3 separate regions of the Homo sapiens genome follow, and all the other regions are linked to region 2. The links are contacts of gene promoters, found by promoter capture Hi-C in human tissues and cell types (Jung and others, 2019). All regions are on one chromosome and are shown on one strand. The core of a region is centred on a gene start or on the middle of the fragment in contact, and the rest is flanking DNA. Distances in the headings are between cores, read along the strand shown. Region 1 overlaps ZNF609 (zinc finger protein 609). Region 2 holds the start of MTFMT (mitochondrial methionyl-tRNA formyltransferase). Region 3 overlaps DPP8 (dipeptidyl peptidase 8).

Region 1 (3,893 bases), core at 344-2,843, 350 kb before region 2:
TTTTTAATCCTCCCTATCACCTTAAGTAATAAGTATTGATATCTTCATTTTTGATGATGAAGAAACTGAAGCTCAAAACAGTTATTTATTTGCTCAAGGTTACCAAGCTAGTAAGTCTCAGAGTAAGGTTTTGAGCCCAAGGCTCTGACTCCAGATAAGTGTGATCTTTCCACTTTATCATATCACTTCTCCAAGATGAATCTGAGACCAGTTCAAAGAACAGTATCAGATCTATGGAAGTTGGAAGCAGGAAACAGGGCCATGTTCCTAATATCCCTTAGCTAATTTTTCCTGTAGAGCTCAGTAAAGAAAGGTCAAGCCAACAGTCTCAGCCAAAGACACTATGTTAGAAAATACCTCAGCCTGTGCCTAGGAAAGCTGATGCCCACCCAATCAAGCTCACTAAAGCAGAGTTTCCTCTACCTCTCCCATCTCTTTGACTGTTTGATTTCTCCTTCCACAGGTTCCTACCTGCCTTCCAGCTACTCTTTTTCCCCATATGGCAGCAAGGTCTCAGGTGGTGAAGATGCTGACAAGGCACGAGCCAGCCCCAGTGTGACTTGTAAATCCAGCTCAGAGTCCAAAGCCCTGGACATCTTGCAGCAGCATGCCAGTCACTACAAGAGCAAGTCTCCCACGGTAAGAAAAGTACAGTGATGCTGGCTGTTACCCAAAGACTAGTAAGGCCAGATCCAGGGTCTGGGAGAAGGTGGGCAAGTTCAGGTCCTGACCACAGTGCAGCTTGGCTGACTTGACACTGGCAGCCCCCAGGGCATCTTCTTTATTCTTAGGTATCTTGCACTTTTAGGGGTCATAAGGTGGCACCCTGGGCATCTCACTTGTGTGTGTGTGTGTGTGTGTGTGTGTGGTTGTATGCATATGTGTCTCACTATAGTGCTTTTGTGTCTCTGGTTTCCTTTCCAGATAAGTGATAAAACTTCTCAGGAGAGAGATCGAGGAGGCTGTGGGGTGGTTGGGGGTGGTGGCAGCTGTAGCAGCGTCGGGGGAGCAAGTGGGGGTGAACGGAGTGTTGACCGGCCCCGCACCTCTCCTTCCCAGCGCCTGATGTCCACACACCACCACCACCACCACTTGGGGTACTCATTGCTCCCAGCACAGTACAACTTACCCTATGCAGCAGGTAAGCCTGTTTTCCCTACCACCTGTTGTTTTGTCTTGTTTTGTTTTGTTTATCTTCATCCCAGTAGTAATGTCCACAGCTAGGACCCTCCTACCTGCCTCATAAGAATCCTTTTTTAATTTTTTTTTTTTGAGCTTCTAATCTGTGCACAGTCCTAACCTCCTGCAGTCATTAAAGCATATGATATTTATTCCTCCCTTGGAGTTTGGGGACTCTTAAATTCCTCCAGAATACTGGCCTTGATAGTCAGAAGAATATGGAACAGGTGTTCCCCAAAGGCAAAGAGAAACAATCAGCTGAGAAATAGAGCCTTATTATCTATCTCCAGCAAATATATCTGGCTGAGTATCAGATTTTTTTTTCTGTCAGCACCCCAAAACTCAGGGAAAAAGATTAATGGAAGGTTTCTGTGAGTGCTACACTAACATGTTCTCCTGCTTATTCAGGGCTTTCTTCTACAGCCATTGTTGCCAGCCAACAAGGCTCAACTCCCTCACTCTACCCACCCCCCAGGAGGTGAGAATGGTAAGTCACTTTTATTAATTTGGGGCAACACATAAAGCCGGGATAGTTGCTACCTGGATCACAGAATCCCTAGGTGAGAAATAGCTATGAGGGGTCAGCAGTCTGGAATCCATGGAACCCTGGCCAAGCCTCTTGTACAAGAGTCTCCCGTGAAGCCATGTGCATCTGAGAGGACCTGTGGAACACAGTGTCCCCTAGGGACCAGTACTGGCCACTCCTACAATTCATTTTCTTGGAGTGCCACCTTGTGGTTTTTTTACCAACAGGCTGAGTGCCTGGTTATCTGTCCATGTTTCCCTTGCAGACACCAAGTGCCCGGATAAAGTCAGCTTCACGGGCCCGGACTGGCTTACCCAAGGAGGTGCTGAAGGTGCCGTTTAGACATCAGTTAAATGGTGTTGATCATCCTGTTTGCCGTTTCCACCATGACTGAAGGCAGACCCTTGGCTATCTCACCTCCACCAGACCTCCGGACTACCTGACCCTACCTCTTCCTCAGGAGCTGGAGAGCTGGTACTTAGCAAAAATATTTATTCTCTCAGCCACAGTTATGACTATTGTGGCCTCTGTGGAGATGAAGGCACGGGAAGCAACCAGGGGAACATGGCCTCAGCCCAGAGAAGCCACTGCTCTGTTCCCCAAGCCCTTGGTCTGCTGCTGGAGCAGTACCAGCCCCCCCGCCCACCAGGGAGGGACCCCCACCCCCAAGCACTGGGTAAGGTCTGAAGACAGCACAGCAGCCATACCCCTCACCATCATTACCACCATCACCAGATTCTGCATCTCCCTAGTGCTTTGCACCCTGGGAATTGGCAGCATGTGGAGGAACTAGAATCTCAGGAAAGAAATTGGGGGTTGTTTTCTACATAATTGTGAAAACAAGGTCTTCAAATGTGGAGACTTCTCCCCATTTACATGAGCACATATAAACGCTCACAACCTAGCCTGGAAAGGAAGACCAAGGCATCTGCCCCAACATGGCCTTGAGCTGCCTGTGAGGCAGGGGGCAGGGGTTCCAACACCAGCACAGGGCTCCCCAGGGACACTGGGAGCAAGCTGGTGCTGGAGCATGAATGACGTCTGTGAAGTAGAACCTGCGTCCCCACTAAGTCCTGCTGCTTCTTATTCCCCAACTCCTTGCCCTTTTCCCTTCCCTCCTAACCCCTTGGTGCCTTTCCCAGGGGGATCCCCACACTGGTCTTGCCTCTTCTTTTCCACTGCTTGGCTCTTAAGCCTCAGGCAGATAAACTAGTATTCCCCCCAGCTTGGGGAACCTTGGAGTCTGCCAGGTCACCTTAGGGCAAGGCCCAGAAGGCAGCCCCTGGGAGCACCCAGCAGTTCTTGGAGATGTCCTGTCATCTAGCCATCTGATATCTTCCTCATTTGAGGCCACAGATATATACAGCCCAATTCCTCTGTCTACAAGTACATGATTTTATATAGCTCAGTCTATAACCTCCATGTGGGCCAATATAAGCTGTGTTTCTTGGTAACACATATTTTGTTTGAGGGGCCACTGGCCATGGGAGGTTATTTGTTCCTTAGACCCTGGAATAACACATCCAAGCCATTACTTATTAGAGTCTCAGAATGTACTCAGTGGAGCTGTGCTTTGAGGCAGCCAACATTTCTCTGCTCTCCTTAGAAATGCAGTCTCCCAATGGAAGCTTTATACTCTTTGTACTGGGAAAGTGAGGATGATTTGGTAGCTTTATTGGGGTCATGTCTTCCCCAAGGTGTGGGGAGCTTAGCTTACTTGGCTTTTGAGGTATCATCCCTCTGTTCTCCCCTCCTATCTTTCCATGACCCTCTGGATTGAGAGAGAGAGATAAAGACTGACAGACACCAGTGTAGGCTGGAAAAGGGAGTGTGTGACCAGAGTGCCAAAAGTGACTAGGAGCAGGAACTTGGCTCCGACTCAGTTTGGAAAATGGGAAATAGGGGACAGTAAGCACAATGCCCAGTAGTAGTTGATTTCCAAGGACCCTGGAACCCTACACTTGAGAGGCTTAGGGTCACCATCTGCTCAAGAGGATCCCCTCTGATCTACAGGCCTTTTCCCTAGGTTTCTGCCTCCTCGTTTTTGTTCAAGTTGGGTTCTGAGTCCTCCCCAAAAACCATTGTTTTAGACCTCTTGGCAGGGCCCCAAAACAGCCTCCCTCATACCCATCATTCCCTCTGCCTTCTGCTGCCCTCATGGGCAGTGCTCTGAGCAGTGACCTCCCTT
Region 2 (4,038 bases), core at 754-3,253:
ACTGGGATATTACATACTGCTTTGCATTTTTTTTCCTTTTAACAATGCTATATATGCTATTATGTGTCTTTTTGAAAAATGGGTTAAATATACGTATATTTGTATATTCACTGAACATTTCTAGAAGGAACTGAAAACAGTGGCTGTCTCTGGATAAAGGAACTGGGAACTGCTAAACAGAGGTGGAAGGAAGTAACTTTTCACTGTATATCCTTTGAATCCATGGAACTTTTTTACCATAACCATGATGCCATTCAAACACTACTTTTTAAAAAACAAACAAAAATACATAACATGGCTATCATTCCATGGCAGTACCTGTAGCACTACCTCATCCTTTCTACCTGCTGCATAGCATTCTAGTACCCAGGGGGGTACATTTATTAAACAGGTATTGTATGTACACGTTGAGGAGTTATGAGGAGTATGTCCTGGGGCACTATAAAGAAAGCACAGGAGTAATGGAGCTGCCAAGTGAAGCATCATCAGAAGTATCAGGATAGGCCAGGAATGATGGCTCAGGCCTGTAATCTCAGCACTTTGGGAGGCCAAGGTGAGAGGATCACTTGATCCCAGGAGTTTGAGATAAGCCTGGGCAACATGGTGAAAACCCGCCTCTACAAAAAATTTAAAAATCAGGCGTGGTGGTGCACGCCCGTAGTCCTAGCTACTCTGGAAGCTGAGATGGGATGATTGCTTGATCTTTGAGGTCGAGGCTGCAGTGAGCTATGAGCCGGCCACTGCACTCCAGCCTGGGGGACAGCGCGAGACCTCGCCTCAGAAACAAACAAAAAAAGTGTTGGTATAAATGTATAAATGCAGTGAGAGACGCATGTGACAACAGCAGCCCATGAAGGGTGTGCAAAGGGAACATGGGGTTTCCTTCCGGGTGTGTGCACAGAGGGGTGTGTGGAGGAAGGAAAACCACACAGGGGATTGACGAAGGATTCAATACATGAGGGGCTGCTGTGAAGTATCTGTAGGGAAAAGGAGATGGAGATGACCAAAAAAAGTGGAAGGAGGACTGCGTCAGAAAAAAACAGAATGGGGAAATAAAAAACATTAATTGGGAAAAAGAGGCAGAGAAGTATATACGGTATTGCCACCACATACCATGGACTCTCAGGACTGGTTGGATTTCAAATAATTTTCTTTCCCAGTAAACAAAACTTGTTAAATATTATGAATACTAAATGTATACCTAACAGTTCTGATTTATAAATTTATTCTTTTGAAAACAGGTCGTTTTTGGACTATGTCCTTGTATACAAGGAGCACAGGGGGAGCAAAAGAGCGAGACACGGGTGTGCCGAAGGATGGGGGTCAGGAGGAACTGCAAAGCAGGGAACTTTGAAGTGGGACCTGGTTTTAGTCCGAACCACCTCGGCTGATGACCTTGGGCAATCGCATAACCTCTCTGAGCCACGGATTCCCCACACTCAAAACGGGCAGGGAGGCCGTGGGACTGGCCCGGGGGATGCAGGCAGAGCGCCCAGCCCCAGCTCGGCACAGCGTGGGTGGCAGGGCGCCTGGAGAACCCACAGAGGCGGCGGGGAGTGAGGGGCGCAGACCGCAGGTACTAGGCGCCCAAAGGCTGACCGGCGGGAATGGCGCACCTTCTGGGAGCCAGAAGACGCCGAGATCTGGGCCCACACCGCTCTGCCGCCCATGCTTTCCGCAACCAGAAGTCCAAAACCCTCGGGGCCGGCCGCCCGGGCGCGGCCTGGAGGCCTTCAGCGGCCGGGTCCCCGGATCCCTGGCCCGGGTACCTGGCGGCGTGCAGCGCCCGCAGCGCCTCGCGGGCGAACTGGTCCGTGCCGAAGAAGAGCACCCGCCAGGGAGGCTTCTCGCGGACTCTGGAGTCCCGGCAGTCCTCCCAGCCGAGTCGGGCCAGTGCTCGCCACTGGGGACTCGGCCTCCCACGCCTGGCGCCATGAGCCAGCGGAGGACCCCAACAGCGCCGCACCAACACCCTCATCGCCTCGGCCGCCGGCGGCCGGCCCTGCGCAGGCGCATCGGGGCGGGGACAAGGGTGCAGCCTGGGGAGGGCGGGGCTTGCCTGCTTGGAGGCGGGGTCTGGTTGGAGTTGGTGAACGAATTTGCCCGCTACAGCGGCCCTAGATTTTTGTTCTGTTTATTTGCACTATGTAGCCAATCCTCCAGAATAAGTCTTTCTTTTCTTTTTAAAATCGCTTTATTTATTTATTTATTTATTTATTTATTTATTTCAGAAAGGGTCTTGCTCTGTCGCGCAGGCTGGAGTGCTGTGGCGCGATCTCTGCTTACTGCAACCTCACTGCTCCTGGGCTCAAGGGATCCTCCCACCTCAGCCTCCGGAGTAGCTGGGGTACAGGCACACATCACCATGCTGGGCTGATTTTTTGTAGAGAGAGTATCTCACTATGTTGCCCAGGTCTCAAGCAATCCTCCTGCCTTGGCCTCCCCAAGTGCTGGGGTTACAGGCGTGAGCCACTGCGCCGGCCCAGGATAAGTCTTTTGGTAACAAATCGTGCATGTTTTCAGACAATGAAACCTCATGTATATAGTGCATGTCATTTCCTCAACCATTATAACCAATATTTGCTGAGTACTTCACTCCGTGCCACGTTTTTGCTAAGCATTTTATATTCATTATTCTGGTTAATCATCAGATCAACCTTAGGAGGTAGATACTATTACAAATATGTTACTGAAGAGAAACTGAAGCTCCGTGAAATTAAGGACTTACCAGTGTATAAGGTCCACACAGCTAGTAAAGGACAGAGCAGAGGTGGGACTCTTGTAATTCCAACGCTTGTAATCCTAGCCGTTGGGCCTTCTCAGCGATCCTATGTATTAGGCAAGTCAATTACCCACATTTTGCACCTGAGGAAACTGAGCCTTAGTTACTTGTCTGCAGTTACTTTCTTGAATCGAAGGCTCCATCTTTACTCCTCCCCTGTGGGTTCCTTTGCACACAGAAGGATACCATAGAGGTGATTCCTAGGGAAATGGACAGGGAACCTTATCCCCAGAAGACCTCCGAGGACCGTTAGTGCTTAGATTCTGTATCCCCAAAGCCTCCTTGAGTGGAGTCAGACATCCATGAAACAGGATCTGAGCAGAGACTGAAACCGAATTTTGTTCTAATCTTATTCTCACCACCATTTTTTTTTTTTTTTTTTTTTTTTTTGAGATGGAGTCTCGCTCTGTTTTTCAGGCTGGAGGGCAGTGGCGGGCGATCTTGGCTCACTGCAACCGCTGCTTCCCAGGTTCAGGCGATTCTCCTGCCTCAGCCTCCCAAGTAGCTGGGACATGCGCCACTACACCTAGCTAATTTTTGTATTTTTAGTAGAGATGGGATTCACTATGTTGACCAGGCTGGTCTTGAACTCCTGACCTCAGGTGATCTGCCTGCCTTGGCCCCCCAAAGTGCTAGGATTACAGGCATGAGCCACTGCGCCCTGCCGTCTCACCACCTTTTCCCATCACACAGTCTTAAACCCAGTGACCCTGGACCAGTCCTTTTTCCTAAATTATGAGCTCTGCACATCCCTGCTCCTGTGCCTTTGCTCATGCTCCCTTCCTAGACTGCCTTCCCACATCTCTTCATCTCTAAATGGTATCCATTCTTCAACACGAAGTTCAGACATTCGCCCTGAAGCTTCAAGCTCTTGCCTCCTTAGATTTCTTGTCTTTCTCCATGTGCCCCTGTTTTTTTTTGTTGTTGCTGTTGTTTTTGTTTTTGTTTTTGAGACAGAGTCTCACTCTGTCACCCAGGCTGGAGTGCAGTGGTGTGATCTTGGCTCACTGCACCCTCCACCTCCCCTGTGCAAGCGATTCTGCTGCCTCAGCCTCCTGAGTAGCTGTGATTACAGGCGCCTGCCACCACGTCTGGCTAATTTTTTGTATTTTTAGTAGAGATGGGGTTTTGCCGTGTTGGGCAGGCTGGTCTCGAACTCCTGACCTCAGGTGATCCACCTGCTTTGGCCTCCCAAAGTGCTGGGATTACAGGCATGAGCCACCGTGCTTAGCCCATGTGCCCCCTTAATACTCTGT
Region 3 (3,763 bases), core at 506-3,005, 430 kb after region 2:
AAGTGATTCACCCGCCTCGGCCTCCCAAATTGCTGGGATTACAGGCGTGAGCCACCACACCCGGCCCCGTAGGTTTTTTTAGATTAGAGTTTATTACCAACTGAGATTCTGTTGCCCCCTCTCCCTCAAATTTTTTAAAAATCTATTTGGAGATAGGGGCCTATATCTTCTGTTGCTAGCCTGTCCTAGAGTTTAGTTACCACTTAGTCATAAAGCTCCCTCCTACTGCTACTCAAACTGTCCCTTGCTATTTGGGTATTTCCCATTTCCATTTGTTCTGTTGTCTGCTAAGAGGTCAGCATCTTCCTTGTAACAAGCCTTCCTATACCCAAAGACAAAAAATTAGCCCCTTAAGTAATTAATTTTACTTTTCCTTTTTATCTATTTTTTTGGAGACATGGTCTCACTCTGCTGTCCAGGTTGGAGTGCAGTAGTGTGACCAGGGATCACTGTAGCTCAACCTCCCGGGCTCAAGTTATCCTCCCACCTCAAGCCTCCCAAGTAGCTGGGACCACAGGCATGCGCCACCATGCCCAGCTAATTTTTTAACTCATTTGTAGAGGTGGGGTCTCATTATGTTGCCCAGGTTGGTCTTGAACTCCTGGGCTCAAGTGATCCTCCTGCCTTGGCCTCCCAAAGTGCTGGGATTACACGCGTGAGCCACTGCACCTGGCCTACTTCTCCTTTTTAATTTTTAGTGCAGTAAAGCAGAAGGAATTGCTCTTGAGGCCCTGTCTTCTTATTTCCCTATTATACTACCTCTAGGAACTGAACATACTACTTCTTTAAAGTCCTAATTCCTACCACCACCACCTTGTCTATATTACTAGGCCTGCCAGTGCACGCAATCTCACTTCACTGAGCCAAAAACAAAAATAAAAACAAAAAAACTTACATGAGAATACAACATAAGGTCAAAGAACTGGCTGTGGGAGAAAATCCCCATGTCTTACTCAGCATGTCCAATAACACTGGCAAACACAGTAACTGCCTTACTGTGCAAAAGGAACATCGGATTCTCATCATTTCCCAAAGCAGCAGAAAGGACATGGGGCATCTCTAAAAGGTAGCATTTAAAGCTTCCTGTAGAGAGAAAGAGGCTTGTCACAAGGAAGGCACTAACCAGTTGGATTCCCTCTTCACAGAGGACAGAACAAATCTCAATTATTCCTCAACTGTGTACAGGATGCTGAAAGCTAAATGGTGCTAAATTCTACCCAAGTGGACATACAAAACAGAGAGGATATTTCTATGTACAAGTGGCTCTATCTCAGTTCCCCAAAGTTACGTATAAGTAGGGTGTACATCAAGTTGCATCTTCTCTCCCACCCCCAAACTCTAACACATACACTCTCACTCACTCATTCATAGCCCCTTCCCCCAACTCTCTTTCAAGGGTTTCACACCAAACAATGGACCAGAAAATGTAAATGTCTGTAAAAGAAAAGTGTTTTATGCTCACACACCATTTTATATTTAAAGGCGCCTTCAAATTTAAGCCCTCGGTGACAGGATCCCCTGTTGTCTATCACTACAACCACATAACCTAGAGAGGCTAGGGTATTCAAGCGGAAATACTTGACTCCTTTAAACCGATTATTCACCAACTGCACCTGAGGAAGAAACACAACTTCAGTTTATCATATGGAAGCATATAAAAACCCAAGAGCGGCTGGGCATTGCAAGAAATAGAAAGCTTAATTTCACTATTATTTTACCTTTAAAATGTAATTTTTTAAGTCATTTCTTTTTAAATTAACAAGTCTGTTTATTTGCTTCTTGCTTAACTTCACACTCAAGTTCAGGGCAATTACTGAACAACCATAGGCTTTAAAATTCTAACTTAAATATTAATTACATATAAGTGAATCAACCCACCCCATATAAAAAGTTACTAAATTGATTACTTCTACCCTGAAGAACTGTGCTATTCGAATGACAGTTACAAGGACAAATAAGAAAAACTTTCCTCCCCATCAGACATCAGATATGACTGCTGCTTGGCTTCCTCCACTGCCTACCATTACCCTTCAGAATAAGTCTACATGGCCCTTGAGATCTTTGGCTACCTCTGACCTCATCTCATACCATTTCCCTCCAAGTGCACTGTACTCTAACCTTATTGTCAACACTATCAAGTTGGTTCTAGCCCCAGGAACTTGACATTTACCGTTTTCTGTGTCTGGAATGCTTTTCTCTCACATCTTTTGCATGGCTCATTCCTTCTCAATGTTTGTAACCTCAGGAGAGGTCTTGCCATCCCCTTTCCCAGCAAATCTTCATAGAACTTCCATTATAAAAAGTCATACTTTTGGGCTGAGCGTGGTGGTTCACACCTGTAATCCCAGCACTTTGGGAGGCTGAAGCGGGTGGATCACCTGAGGTCAGGAGTTCGAGACCAGCCTGGCCAACATGGCGAAACCCCGTCTCTACCAAAAACAAAAAATTAGCTGGGCATGGTGGGGAGTGCCTGTGATCCCAGTCACTCGGGAGGCAGAGGCATGAGAATTGCTTGAACCCAGAAGGCAGAGAGGTTGCAGTGAGCAAAGATCACACCACTGCACTGCAGCCTGGGCAACACAGTGAGACTCTGTCTCAAAAAACAAACAAAAAAAGTCATACTTTTTTTTTTTAAGAGATGGGGTCTCCAGGCTGGAGTGCAGTGGTACAATCATAGCTCAGTGCTGCCTCAAATTCCTGGGCTCAAGTGATCCTCCTGCCTCAGCCTTCAAGTAGCTGGGACTACAGGTGTGCACCACCATGCCTGGCTAATTTTTAAATTTTTTTGTAGAGATGGGGTCTCACCATCATATCTTTTTATGTTTGCTTATTATTTTCCCTTTATGGTCCATGAAGTGGAATATTAGTCTGACATGTTCACTGGGTATCCTCACTGCCTAGAACAGTACCTAGCACATCACAGGAACTTAATACCTGTTTGCTAAATGAATGAATGAAAAAGAGAAACAGGAGAATAATGTTTTTTTCCCATTTCTACCTTGGGAAGAGGGCGTTTGGTGAGTAAAGGCACTTGTATTTATTTATTTACTTAAGAGATGGTGTCTCACTCTGTACCCCAGGCTGGAGTGTGGTGGTACAATCATAGTTCACTACAGCCTCGAACTCCTGGGCTCAAGTAATCCTCCCACCTCAGCCTCTGAATAGCTGGGATTACATGTGTGTGCCACAGCACCTGGCTAAAGATATTTGTCTTTAAAGGGAGAGTGCTGAAAGAAGAAATACTAGGCAGAGAAGTACACGAATATGAACATTTAAAGAAAATCACCTCACTTCTTTGTCTGCTACCATGTATAGAAGATGGTCTCAATTGCTTGATATGAACACTTAAATATAATGCCTTTTGGCACTGGGAATCCAAAAGTCTCCTTCAGTATCAATTCTTCAAAACCTGTGTCCTGTTATCATCTAGCCTGATCTCTTTGGATTTTTATTTGCAGAACAGTGTCTGGCACATTCTAGGAAACATAAGTATTTGTTACACAAACTTTTTTTGTTTTTTGAAATGTAGTCTTGCTCTGTCACCCAGGCAGGAGTGCAATGGCGTGATCTCGGCCCACTGCAACTTCCGCCTCCCAGGTTCAAGCAATTCTCGTGCCTCAGCCTCCCGAGTAGCTGGGATTATAGGTGTGCACCACAATGCCTGGCTAATTTTTGTAATTTTAATAAGGTCGGGGTTTCACCATGTTAGCCAGGCTGGTCTCAAACTCCTGACCTCAAGTCATCCGCCCACCTCAGCCTCCCA

Evidence for each region. The method cuts DNA at HindIII sites, captures the fragments that hold promoters and counts their contacts. A contact is called where the count stands out against the background at its distance.
Region 1: a contact is called between a fragment that was not itself captured here and the fragment with the promoter of MTFMT in region 2, in 1 of the 25 tissues and cell types used here (spleen).
Region 3: a contact is called between a fragment that was not itself captured here and the fragment with the promoter of MTFMT in region 2, in 1 of the 25 tissues and cell types used here (adrenal gland).

Annotation. Positions count from the first base shown.
Region 1 is chr15:64,679,722-64,683,614 of GRCh38, forward strand. ZNF609 (zinc finger protein 609) reads left to right here. Exons shown (of 10, transcript NM_015042.2): 7 at 464-639; 8 at 925-1,141; 9 at 1,588-1,666; 10 at 1,971-3,893. The coding sequence ends at 1,661. Among named protein-coding and RNA genes, the nearest start is that of OAZ2, 22 kb to the right of the region's middle. The HindIII fragment of the contact is 5,319 bases long and covers 1-3,893 here.
Region 2 is chr15:65,027,636-65,031,673 of GRCh38, forward strand. It overlaps MTFMT (mitochondrial methionyl-tRNA formyltransferase), which reads right to left and starts at 2,004. Exons shown (of 9, transcript NM_139242.4): 1 at 1,770-2,004. The coding sequence starts at 1,978. RefSeq lists silencers at 1,417-1,716, 1,967-2,156. The HindIII fragment of the contact is 8,500 bases long and covers 1-4,038 here.
Region 3 is chr15:65,454,759-65,458,521 of GRCh38, forward strand. DPP8 (dipeptidyl peptidase 8) reads right to left here. Exons shown (of 20, transcript NM_130434.5): 16 at 1,467-1,613. Among named protein-coding and RNA genes, the nearest start is that of IGDCC4, 34 kb to the left of the region's middle. The HindIII fragment of the contact is 4,987 bases long and covers 1-3,763 here.